Regions from separate parts of the Homo sapiens genome. Here regions 2 and 3 are each linked to region 1. Evidence: promoter capture Hi-C in 16 types of primary human blood cells and fetal thymus (Javierre and others, 2016). All regions are on one chromosome and are shown on one strand. Each heading gives the region's core, a stretch centred on a gene start or on the middle of the fragment in contact. The rest is flanking DNA. Distances are from core to core; before and after follow the strand shown.

What was found. The method cuts DNA at HindIII sites, captures the fragments that hold promoters and counts their contacts. A CHiCAGO score of 5 or more calls a contact.
Region 2: a contact is called between the fragment with the promoter of CD27 here and the fragment with the promoter of PHB2 in region 1, in 4 of 17 cell types (non-activated CD4 T cells, activated CD4 T cells, naive CD4 T cells and 1 more). The highest score is 8.9, in non-activated CD4 T cells.
Region 3: a fragment that was not itself captured here is called in contact with the fragment with the promoter of PHB2 in region 1 in 4 of 17 cell types (fetal thymus, naive CD4 T cells, naive CD8 T cells and 1 more); the score reaches 7.5 in fetal thymus.

What each region holds. Positions count from the first base shown.
Region 1 is chr12:6,968,708-6,972,440 of GRCh38, forward strand. PHB2 (prohibitin 2) reads right to left here and starts at 1,957. Exons shown (of 10, transcript NM_001144831.2): 1 at 1,710-1,957; 2 at 1,489-1,573; 3 at 791-870. The coding sequence starts at 1,836. EMG1 (EMG1 N1-specific pseudouridine methyltransferase) reads left to right here and starts at 2,206. Exons shown (of 6, transcript NM_006331.8): 1 at 2,206-2,384. The coding sequence starts at 2,217. RefSeq lists enhancers at 1,881-2,483, 2,004-2,073, 2,164-2,343, 2,394-2,513. The HindIII fragment of the contact is 5,065 bases long and covers 528-3,733 here.
Region 2 is chr12:6,443,004-6,446,416 of GRCh38, forward strand. CD27 (CD27 molecule) reads left to right here and starts at 1,952. Exons shown (of 6, transcript NM_001242.5): 1 at 1,952-2,228; 2 at 2,421-2,552. The coding sequence starts at 2,093. CD27-AS1 (CD27 antisense RNA 1) reads right to left here. Exons shown (of 6, transcript NR_015382.2): 5 at 543-714. RefSeq lists a silencer at 1-53 and enhancers at 1,044-1,113, 1,134-1,183, 2,088-2,589, 2,134-2,193, 2,224-2,403 and 1 more. The HindIII fragment of the contact is 1,289 bases long and covers 1,364-2,652 here.
Region 3 is chr12:7,641,582-7,645,103 of GRCh38, forward strand. No RefSeq gene overlaps it. Among named protein-coding and RNA genes, the nearest start is that of APOBEC1, 23 kb to the right of the region's middle. The HindIII fragment of the contact is 2,109 bases long and covers 273-2,381 here.

The DNA.
Region 1 (3,733 bases), core at 707-3,206:
CCTGGGGGGAGGAGAGTTAATCAGGCTGACAAGGAAGACAAGACGCAGCACAGCTGAAATGCACCCTCACCCACTGTGAAGCCTTGAACTGCAAACCCCGTCACCAGCAGAGCTGACTACTCTTTCCCCCTCTGTACTCTGTGCAACCTCTAACGTGGGCGCTTTCGTGCTGTACCGTAATCATGTCTCCTGTAAGGACTTGGGGGACAAGAATTGTGTTTAATGAATCTTTTATTCCCAGGGCCCAGTCTAGTAAATGAATAAGCGACCTGCACTAGGTATAGCACAAAGAAGTACATTACAGGTTACAGGTGAGCTACCTGACCCAGGGTGTATATGTGTGCGTGGGTGGGGAGGAGGAAGAGGTCTGGGGAACTCAAAGGCACGGCTTTTATGTATGGTCTAGAAGGAGAGAACAGGTGAACTAGTCAAGCTTAGGGACAAACTTCTCCAGAACAGAGTGTACTAGTGGATGTAACTGTAGATATAGTAAGTCAAGCAGTTAGAAAAAAAAGGCTTTAAAACAAAGCTTTGATCTAGGCAGTGAACAAGACGAGGGACAAACAATACTCTTATTGAATACACGTCAGGGAGGAGACAGTAAAAAGCACGCAAACACAGTGTGTTCAGAATTTGCTGCTTTGACCCCAGGAGGCAGGTATTTTTGTTACAGCTCTTGCAGATGTGGAAAGAGGCCTAAAGGCCTGACACTACCATATTCCCCTGGGGTTTCTTGCCAGCTACCTTGATCATCCCACCTGCCATGTGATTACCAAGTGCTCAGACCTACCTTTGGAGCCTGTAGGGGAGGAGATTTTTCGAGGTCTGGCCCGAATGTCATAGATAATGGGGTACTGGAACCAAGGGATCCTGGAGAGGACAGGGATAGGTATTAAGAGGCCACAGTTTCGGCCGGGCGCGGTGGCTCACGCCTGTAATCCCAGCACTTTGGGAGGCCGAGGCGGGCGGATCATTTGAGGTCAGGAGTTCGAGACCAGCTTGATCTACATAGTGAAACCCCGTCTCTACTAAAATACAAAAATTAGCCGGGCGTGGTGGCGGGCGCCTGTAATCCCAGCTACTCGTGAGGCTGAGGCAGGAGAATCGCTTGAAATCAGGAGGCGGAGGTTGCAGTGAGCCGAGATCGCGCCACTGCACTCCAGCCTGGGCGACAGAGCAAGACTCCCTCTCCAAAAAAAAAAAAAGAAAAGGCCGCAGTTTCACTAGCCTTGCCCGGTTTCCCCTCACCACGCGTTTTTTGGCCTGCTCCTCTCCACGACCACAGACAAGGAGAGATTCTCTTGTCCCTCTGGAAAACAACAGTTTGTATGCTGCTGGAGGTTCTCGCAGCACCCACTATCCTAGGGGCAGGGATGAGGAGGGTGGGAAAAGAGCAGCGTTGAATCCTGTTGCACGTCCGACTATAGCCACTGCTGGGTCGGCGTCAAGGGTGAAAGGTCAGGGTCAGCAGGCTCTGCCCGCCATTACCTGAAGTGAAGGCCCTCGGCCAGGATAGTGTCCTGCTGCACTCCACCGATCCGATTGAAGAAGATGGCTCTGTGCCCGCCTTCCACTGTGGGGAGATGGGTGGTGATCAGGCCAGGCCGCTGCTCAGAGGAAATGCTAGGCCCGTGGAGGGGCGCGGGGACAGGGCAAGGGGTTTGGGGGAGGGACTGGAAGCGTCCGGCGAGCAGGCGGAGGTTGCTCACCGGTGAACACAGATTCGCGCACACCGTAGGCCACGGCGCCGGCCCCCAGCAACAGCTTCAGGGCCGTGCCCATGCCCCGGGGCCCGGCGGGCAGCCGTCCCGCCAAGTCCTTCAAGTTCTGGGCCATGTCTGATCTTGAGGCCGGCGGCACTGGAGGTCAGAAGGGGGTGCCGGCCCGCCTCTACCCCGCTCCGGCTTAGGTACTGCACCCTTCACACGAGGGTTCGGGCCCGTAAGGCTGGCGAAAGAAAGGGCAGCGGAAGTGCGCTCCCTTTGAAACCCTCCCCCTTAGCCCACTACGGACCCGAACTTCGCGCACAGGAATCGCGCATACGGAAGTCCCGCCCCTTTCTGGAAGGCTGCCCTCCCAGGGAGGGCAGCGCAAGACAGCAAGTCATCTCCATTTCCTGGCCCACTTTCAAAATGGCAGCCGGAAGGAAATTTGTGATTAGAAGCCGCGCTGTTCTTATTTAAGAGCGTTAGCGCAACTTCCGGTATTGTTGCAAGATGGCCGCGCCCAGTGATGGATTCAAGCCTCGTGAACGAAGCGGTGGGGAGCAGGCACAGGACTGGGATGCTCTGCCACCCAAGCGGCCCCGACTAGGGGCAGGAAACAAGATCGGAGGCCGTAGGCTTATTGTGGTGCTGGAAGGGGCCAGTCTGGAGACAGTCAAGGTAGTTTGGGACAGGAAGTGGAGAAGTAGTAAATCGATAGGTTGGGACTCCGTGGAATGAGGGTAAGGGGCCCAGAGTGGATGTAGAAAGCAGAGAGGGGTGAAAGATGCTTTTGAAGGAAGGTGGCTTGGTTGGCTTTGCGTTGATTTGACATCCTGGGATGGTAGTACTCATTTTTCTTTCTTTTTTTTTTTTTTTTTGAGACGGAGTCTCGCTCTGTCGCCCAGGCTGGAGTGCAGTTGCGCGACCTCGGCTCACTGCAACTTCTGCCTCCCGCCTTCAAACAGTTCTCCTGACTCAGCCTCTGGAGTAGCTGGGACTACAGGCAGGTGCCACCACGCCCGGCTAATTTTTTTGTATTTTTAGTTCAGATGGGGTTTCACCATGTTGGCCACGCTGGTCTCGAACTCCTGACCTCAAGTGATCCGCCCGCCTCGGCCTCCCAAAGTGTTGGGATTAGAGGCGTGAGCCACTGTGCCCGGCCGGTAGTACTCATTTTCTTTTGCTCTTTTTGAATGATATTCTAGCCCTCACCTCCTTGCTTCCAATTGGTTTACCAGGATTCTGTGGTATAGTAGTCTAAGCAGAGGAAAGTTTCGTTCCTTGCGTCATTCCACATCCCAAGACAAGTTACTGGGCAGATGAGAAACGTAGTTATGTAGCCTAGTCTGCCCACACTTTTTGTAAGGGCTTCGTGTTTCAATTCATTAGTATCCATAGTCACCTCTCTCTAATATCCACCTATGATACACTGTCCAGACCTGGTTATTATTTAAAACTTTTACATCTGCATTTTTATCTATCATTCATCTCTTTCCCCACATGTAATAGAACCAGCAGTTCTCTATCTTAAAGCCTTGGGCAGTGTTCTTCCTCCTCCTTTCTCTTACCCGTTAGAACTAATTGAATAGGCCCAGAAGAAATCGCATTGGTTTAGAAGTCAGGCCAGGATTTTAATCTTCGTTCTAAATACACTTTTTTTTTTTTTTTTTTTTGAGATGGAGTCTCAGTCTCTACCAGGCTGGAGTGCAGTGGCACGATCTTGGCTCACTGCAGCCTCCGCCTCCCGGGTTCAATCGATTCTCCTGCCTCAGCCTCCAGAGTAGCTGGGATTACAGGCCTGCGCCTGTAATCTATTAAAAGAATAGAAAACATGATTATATCCTACTAATGGGTTGAAACTGTATTATTCATTCAAGAAGGTTTTTTTCTTCTATAACTAAGGGTGTCTCATGGACTTAGTTCTTGGTCATTTGTTCTTTGTGCTCTCTGTGACATTACTTCAACTATTCAATTTCAAAATCTACATCCCTTTTTTCGCAGACTTTTTGGAGCCATATATCTCAAGA
Region 2 (3,413 bases), core at 702-3,201, 530 kb before region 1:
AGAATGGCTTGAGCCTGGGAGACAGAGGTTGCAGTGAGCTGAGATTGCATCATTGCACTCTAGCCTGGGTGACAGAGTGAAATGGAGGGAGGAAAAAAAAAAAAAAGGAAGGTCCCGTCCAGGGAGCCAGCCTAGGATGGGGAAGGCTCACCAGAAGTGGATGCAAAGAGTGCTGGAGATGAGCTCATTCTATTTGCCTAGGAAAGAAAAACGTCCAGAAACCTGGCCTTCCTCCTCTTGGCCGAGGCCCTCCAGGAAAGCCAGGCAGACCCTGCTCCTGCTCTGACCCCCTGGAGAAGTGATATGTAGAAAAGAGGAGATGGGCTTTGGCCCAGAGGACAGCAGCGTTAGGCTAGTGAGCAGTTCCCAGTCGGTTCAAGGTTGCTAGGCTCAGCGAACTGCAAGTCCCTGTTCGACAAGTTTCTTCCTAAAGGTCCCCAGTTCCTCATGATTCTTCTGAGGGTCTCATCCACCCTCCCAGGGCCTGCAGTCAGCTAGCCACCCCACTGCCCCATGCCTGCAGTGAACACATTTACCACAACCTGGAAATGGCTGGTGACAGAAAAGTCCTCACGGCCACAACACTCTCTGCGGTGGGAATTCAGGTGCCTTGCCTGATGGTGACAAAGCTGGTTTTGCATAAACAGCTCTCTGAATCACACCCAAATGTGGCTTCTGACTTGAGTGGACCCCCATGAAGAGCTGCAGAGGGGGCTGGGAAAAGACAAGAGAATGGAGAAAATGAGGAGAAAGGAAACTACAGAGTGAGATAGAGAACAGATCTGACAGGTGTGACCACAGCAGTGTGACATTTATGAACAGTGTGGAAACAACGGCAAAGCCCCTAAATTAAAAACTTCCTGGGGAAATAAGCCACTCCACATATCGGTTGCTGAGGAAAGAGTGGAGGAGGCTGTTGACCCGTGTGTGTCCCCATGACTCAAAGAGGGAAAAGTCTAGCTGTTTCCAATATCCCGAAATCAGTCTTGCTGGGAGAACTGGGAAAATAAAAAAGAGATGACCCCCGTAGGAAGCTACCTTTAATCCCAAGTGCCCAAGGCTAGGAGAGAAGATGCTCCAGGCGATCCAGGACACCAGTGACTGACACAGCCAGAGGTGGGAAAGGGGAGGATAAAGATGGCACAAAAGTGAGGAGTGAGCAAGGGTCTGAGAGGGAAGGCCATGTGGGCAGTAGGTGGCACCCACATCAGAGACTGACATGAGGATTAAAGGAGAGCATAGGTGATCGGTCAGAGTGTGACAGAAGAGAGGCAGCTCTACACCCCTTGCTTGCAATTCTGAGCATTCTGTAGCAAACTCGTTTGGCCATCAAACCAGACCTCAATTGAGACAAGGCTATTTAAGCTTCCTCCCAGTTGGTGTAAATATTCAATAGTTTTGCTGCAGAAATGTTGCGTTTGATTATGAGACTACCCCAACTCCCCAAGGGTGTTTTGTGGTGCTGGTTTCTGTATAAACCTGAAAAATTCTGAATTCCAAAACTTATCTGACCCCCAAAGTTTCAGATAAGAGCTTGTGGACCTGTGCTCAATTCTGGTTCTCCTTCCTTCTTTCAACTGTTGTCTGTGAAAGGAGGGATGCAGGTATGGGAGACAGGAGTCCTGCGAATTCGTCTGTAAACTGTGGACGGGGGGGTGGGTGGGGGGGGGTAACGTGGGCACCTTTGTGCACAAGTGCATGAATAGGAGGGGTGAGCAACTGTGTGTCCATCACCTTTTTGTCAAAGAAGCAGGAGTCAGTGGGCTACGTGCTTCATGAGCAGGAGAGGCGGAAACTAAGGAAGGCTCATGTGTTGGAGGAAGCATGTTTGAAGAGCAGCAGGTCTCACAGAGTTTGCTCTTTAATACTCTCCCCAGCACACGGAAGGGGAAGGGGGTGGAGGTTGCTGCTATGAGAGAGAAAAAAAAAACAGCCACAATAGAGATTCTGCCTTCAAAGGTTGGCTTGCCACCTGAAGCAGCCACTGCCCAGGGGGTGCAAAGAAGAGACAGCAGCGCCCAGCTTGGAGGTGCTAACTCCAGAGGCCAGCATCAGCAACTGGGCACAGAAAGGAGCCGCCTGGGCAGGGACCATGGCACGGCCACATCCCTGGTGGCTGTGCGTTCTGGGGACCCTGGTGGGGCTCTCAGCTACTCCAGCCCCCAAGAGCTGCCCAGAGAGGCACTACTGGGCTCAGGGAAAGCTGTGCTGCCAGATGTGTGAGCCAGGTAAGAGGGGGCCTTGGTAAGGGCCAGGTGAGTGGCGAAAGAGAGAGGACTGGGGTTAATACAGTAAATAGGCGCAGGGTGAGACTGAGCTCAAGCAAGGAGGGAAATCCTGCAGCTGTGGGGAGGCACCACCTTGAAGAGGGCAGAGAACCAGCCCTTCTCAGGCCTTGATCCCTTACCCTCTCCTCCCAGGAACATTCCTCGTGAAGGACTGTGACCAGCATAGAAAGGCTGCTCAGTGTGATCCTTGCATACCGGGGGTCTCCTTCTCTCCTGACCACCACACCCGGCCCCACTGTGAGAGCTGTCGGCACTGTAACTCTGGTGAGGTGGGCAAGGGTGTGTAGGTGGGGACGATGGACAAGCATCTGGGGGAGCAAGGCTGGTGACGGGTTTGGGGGTGCAAGGAGGATGACGGGGCCAAAGCTTTGGCCTTCTTCAAGGCTCACAGCAAGTGGAGCCAATGCTGGGAAATGCGGCACCCTAGGTGGGGCATGAATTAACGTGGGCAGACATCTAGTATTCCAGGAAAGGGATAAATAGAATTTGAGGGATTGGTGAGAACGGGTCTATGGATAGGATCAAGACAATAAAATGAGAGAAGTGGCTCTATGACCCCAGATTTCGGGCAAGCAACCCCCAACCAATAAACTGACTGTGTTCCCAGAGTGCACATGTGCAGGTTGGCCATTGGGAATTTGGAATACATCTTTCTAAGGAAATAACAAAGCAACCCAATAGGTAACAACCTTTTTTTGCACAAAAGCCAATTTGAGAAAATGAGTATGTATGTAGCCTGTGTTTTTATTTTATAGTTCCAAAAAAAAAGGTTTTTTTTAAACTAAGAAGTATAATATCTGCAGTTGTGCTTATGAATGCTGTTATTATTTCTCCATCTTCGCTACAATTTCAGAAACTACGGCCAGTATACACTAGAATAGCAGGCTTTAAAGTGGCCCCTTTGAACAAATGTTCTCTAGCAAGACACTTTTTAGAACCAGGTAACTGTAACTATTAAACTACCTACTTGCAAAACGTGTTTGGTGTCACTGGGTCTCTTGGTACTGGGTTTTGTTTTGTTTAGTTTAGAGACAAGGTCTAGCTCTGTCACCCAGGCTGGAGTGCAGTGGTGCAATCATAGCTCCCCACAGCCTTGAACTCCTGGGCTCAAGCAATCTTCTAGTC
Region 3 (3,522 bases), core at 77-2,576, 670 kb after region 1:
CTCACGCCTGTAATCCCAACACTTTGGGAGGCTGAGGCGGGCAGATCACGAGGTCAAGAGATTGAGACCATCCTGGTCAACATGGTGAAACCCCGTCTCTACTAAAAATACAAAAATTAGTTGGGCGTTGTGGCATGTGCCTGTAATCTCAGCTACTTGGGAGGCTGAGGCAGGAGAATCGCTTGCACCCAGGATGTGGAGGTTGCAGTGAGCCAAGATCACGGCACTGAACTCCAGCCTAGCAATAGAGTGAGACTCCGTCTCAAAAAAAAAGCTTTCCAAAATTTAACTCAGGTATTTCACCTCAGATGGAAGGATGTTATGTTGCTCCTAAGTCAGACCCTCACTGCAGCTGAAAAGCAGGCAGCTCTGATTTCAGAGATTAGCAACATATCTCCTATAATACACCAAAAGGGAAGAAAGCAGATAAGGAAAGAGAAGAAATAGCAGAAATGCCATTCCCAATTGGGAGGAAAGCAGTTTCCCTTGACAACCCTAATTGGGACCCCAATAACTCAGGAGATGAAAAGGAAGCTCTTTTTTAAGTGTGCATTAGAGGGCCTACGGAAAACCAGGGCCAAACCTCTCAATTACTCTAAACTGTCCATGATAAACAGCCAGATGAGAATCTTGTAGCCTTTATGGAAAGGCTGAGAGAGGCACTAACAGAACACCCCTCCTTATCCCCTGATTCAGTCGAGGGACAGCTCATCCTAAAGGACAAGTTTATTAGACAGGCAGCTGCCAATATTAAAAGGAAACTACACAAGCAAGCTATAGGACCAGATAGCACCTTAGAGAACTTCCTGAAAGTGGCCACTTTGGTCTTTTGTAATAGGAACCAGGAGGAGGCCCAAAAGAAAGAGACAATGGTCAGAAGGACAGAGACTCTAGCAGCAGCTTTGCAGGCTTGCAAAGTCCAGGATCCCGGAGGTGCATCTGCTAGTTGCTATCAGTGTGGCAGGCCAGAGCATGTTAAGAAAGAATGCCCATACAGCAAGACAAAGCCACCTCAACCCTCTCCAGCCTGTGGCAGAGACAACAGGAGATGGAACTGCCCCCAGAGGTGGAGGTCACTGGGTTCAGAACCAGTCTTACTGATGATCCAGCAGAACTGGATCCCGGGGCTCAAACTCCAGCTCCAGCGGCTCAAACTGCCATTACAGCACAGGAGCTCTGAGTGATTCTGGAAATTAAAAGAAGGAAAGTAGACCTCTTTCTAAACACTCAGCCAGTCTCTCTTTTTTCTCCTCTCTAATCCAGGCCTCCCCTCTTCCCATAGCACAACCAGAAGGGGCATCTCAGGAAAAACTCTACTCCAGTATTTTTCTCAACCTTAGTTGACACGTGCTTCCAAGCCATTATCATGACAGCTCGCTAATCAGAAAAGCCTCCAAGTTAACCCTAGGAAATAATTTAACTGTTTACACCCCACATAATGTGGCAGGATTACTGTCCTCTAGGGGGAGCTCTTAGCCAACAAACCGCCAGTAAAGCAAGAAGTACATAAGGCAGGATAAGCAGTAGTCACTCTAAATAACGTCTCTCCCCAGGCACAAGCGCTCAATTAGCTGAGCTAACAGCTTTTACAAGCACACTTGGATTAAGCAAGGGAAAGGTAGCTAACATTTATACTAACTCCAAGTATGCTTTCTTGGTTCTCCATGCTCATGCTGCCATTTGAAAGAAAAGACATTTTCGGCCAGGCGGTGGCTCACGCCTGTAATCCCAACACTTTGGGAGGCCAGACGGGCGGATCACGAGGTCAGGGGATCAAGACCATCCTGGCTAACATGGTGAAACCCCGTCTCTACTAAAAATACAAAAAATTAGCCAGGCGTGGTGGCAGGCGCCTGTAGTCCCACCTACCTGGGAGGCTGAGACACGAGAATGGCGTGAACCTGGGAGGTGGAGGTTGCAGTGAGCCGAGATCGCGCCACTGCAGTCCAGCCTGGGCGACGGAGCGAGACTTCGTCTCAAAAAGAAAGAAAGAAAGAAAAGACATTTTCTTACCATTAATAGATCCCCTATAAAAATATCACCAGGAAATTAGCAGGTTATCTTCAGTTTTTCTTCCACAAGAAATAGCAGGAATGCATTGTAAGGAACATCAAAAGGGAACAAATGAGGTAGCCAAAGGAAATAGGTTAGCTGATCAGGCAGTTAAGTCAGAGGCAAGGAAGCCTCAAGCCGTTAAGGCACTTAAGCCCCTTCTAATCTAGGAAGGCTCCATAAGAAAAATTAAACCTCAGTATTTCCCTGCAGAAATAAAATAGGCCACTTCTCGAGGACGTAGTTCCCAGCCCTCAGAAAGGCTACAGTCAGAGGATGGCAAACTCCATTTGCCAGCCTCCAGCCAATGTCCTTAAAATCCTTCACCAAGCTTTTCACTTGGGAAAGGATAAAACTTATCAGTGTGCTCAGAGATTGTTTTCAGGCAGGAAACCTCTAAATTGGTTAAGCATGTAACCTCTCTAGCTCACTTCCAACAAGAATTAACGCAACTAACAGAAGTCCAACCCCAGGAAACAGAACCACCTTTATTTAACCCAGGAAATTTGGTGTTAGTGAAAACCCTCATCTCTGTCTCCTTCCCTAAGCCAAGCTGGGAAAGGCCCTACACTGTTCTTCTTTCAACACCATTGGCAGTAAAAGTTACAGGAATCAACTCCTGACTTCCACATTCAAGTCAAAGCCTGAACAGCTGAGGGATCAACCTCTGACAGCCCAGAGGCACGTCCTGAATATCAATGTGGAGAAATAGAAGATCTTAAACTGAAAATCATAAAAGATAAGTAACTGAGTGAGGGCTACTCCTACCTCATCGGGTACTTTTTATTATTTCTGCCTTTCCTCTCAAAATCTGCCACCAAATATTAAAATTCCTTTTAAGGCATATTTGCAGCGAGATTTAATTATACATGGGATTGCATTTGTAACTTTGTAGATCCCCAAAGGGAAATGTTATATCTAGGCAAGTAAAGACTTAAACGAAAATTATTTACTATGCCACTCTTGTGGGAAATGTTATAGTTACACCACTATTTGCGATGGAACTATACACCGTGGCACCCACAATGCGGAATTTTGGTTGTAAAATTCTAATTGTTATAATATTTTGCCTGATTATCTTCCTTATCTTAGGATTAATAATTGCAGGAAAGATTTAGTCAAGGTTATTTTGCTTATAGCAGGAGTGATAGTTATGGATAAGAAGCAAGCATAAGGCCGGGCGCGATGGCTCATGCCTGTAATCTCAGCACTTTGGGAGGCCGAGGCAGGTGGATCACCTGAGGTCGGGAGTTCGAGACCAGCCTGACCAACATGAAGAAACCCCATCTCTACTAAAAAATACAAAATTAGACAGGTGTGGTGGCGCATGCCTGTAATCCCAGCTACTCGGGAGGCTGAGGCAGGAGAATTGCTTGAACCTGGGAGGAGGAGGTTGTGGTGAGCTGAGATCGTGCCATTGCGCTCCAGCTTGGACAACAAGAGCGAAACTCCATATCAAAAAAAGAAAAA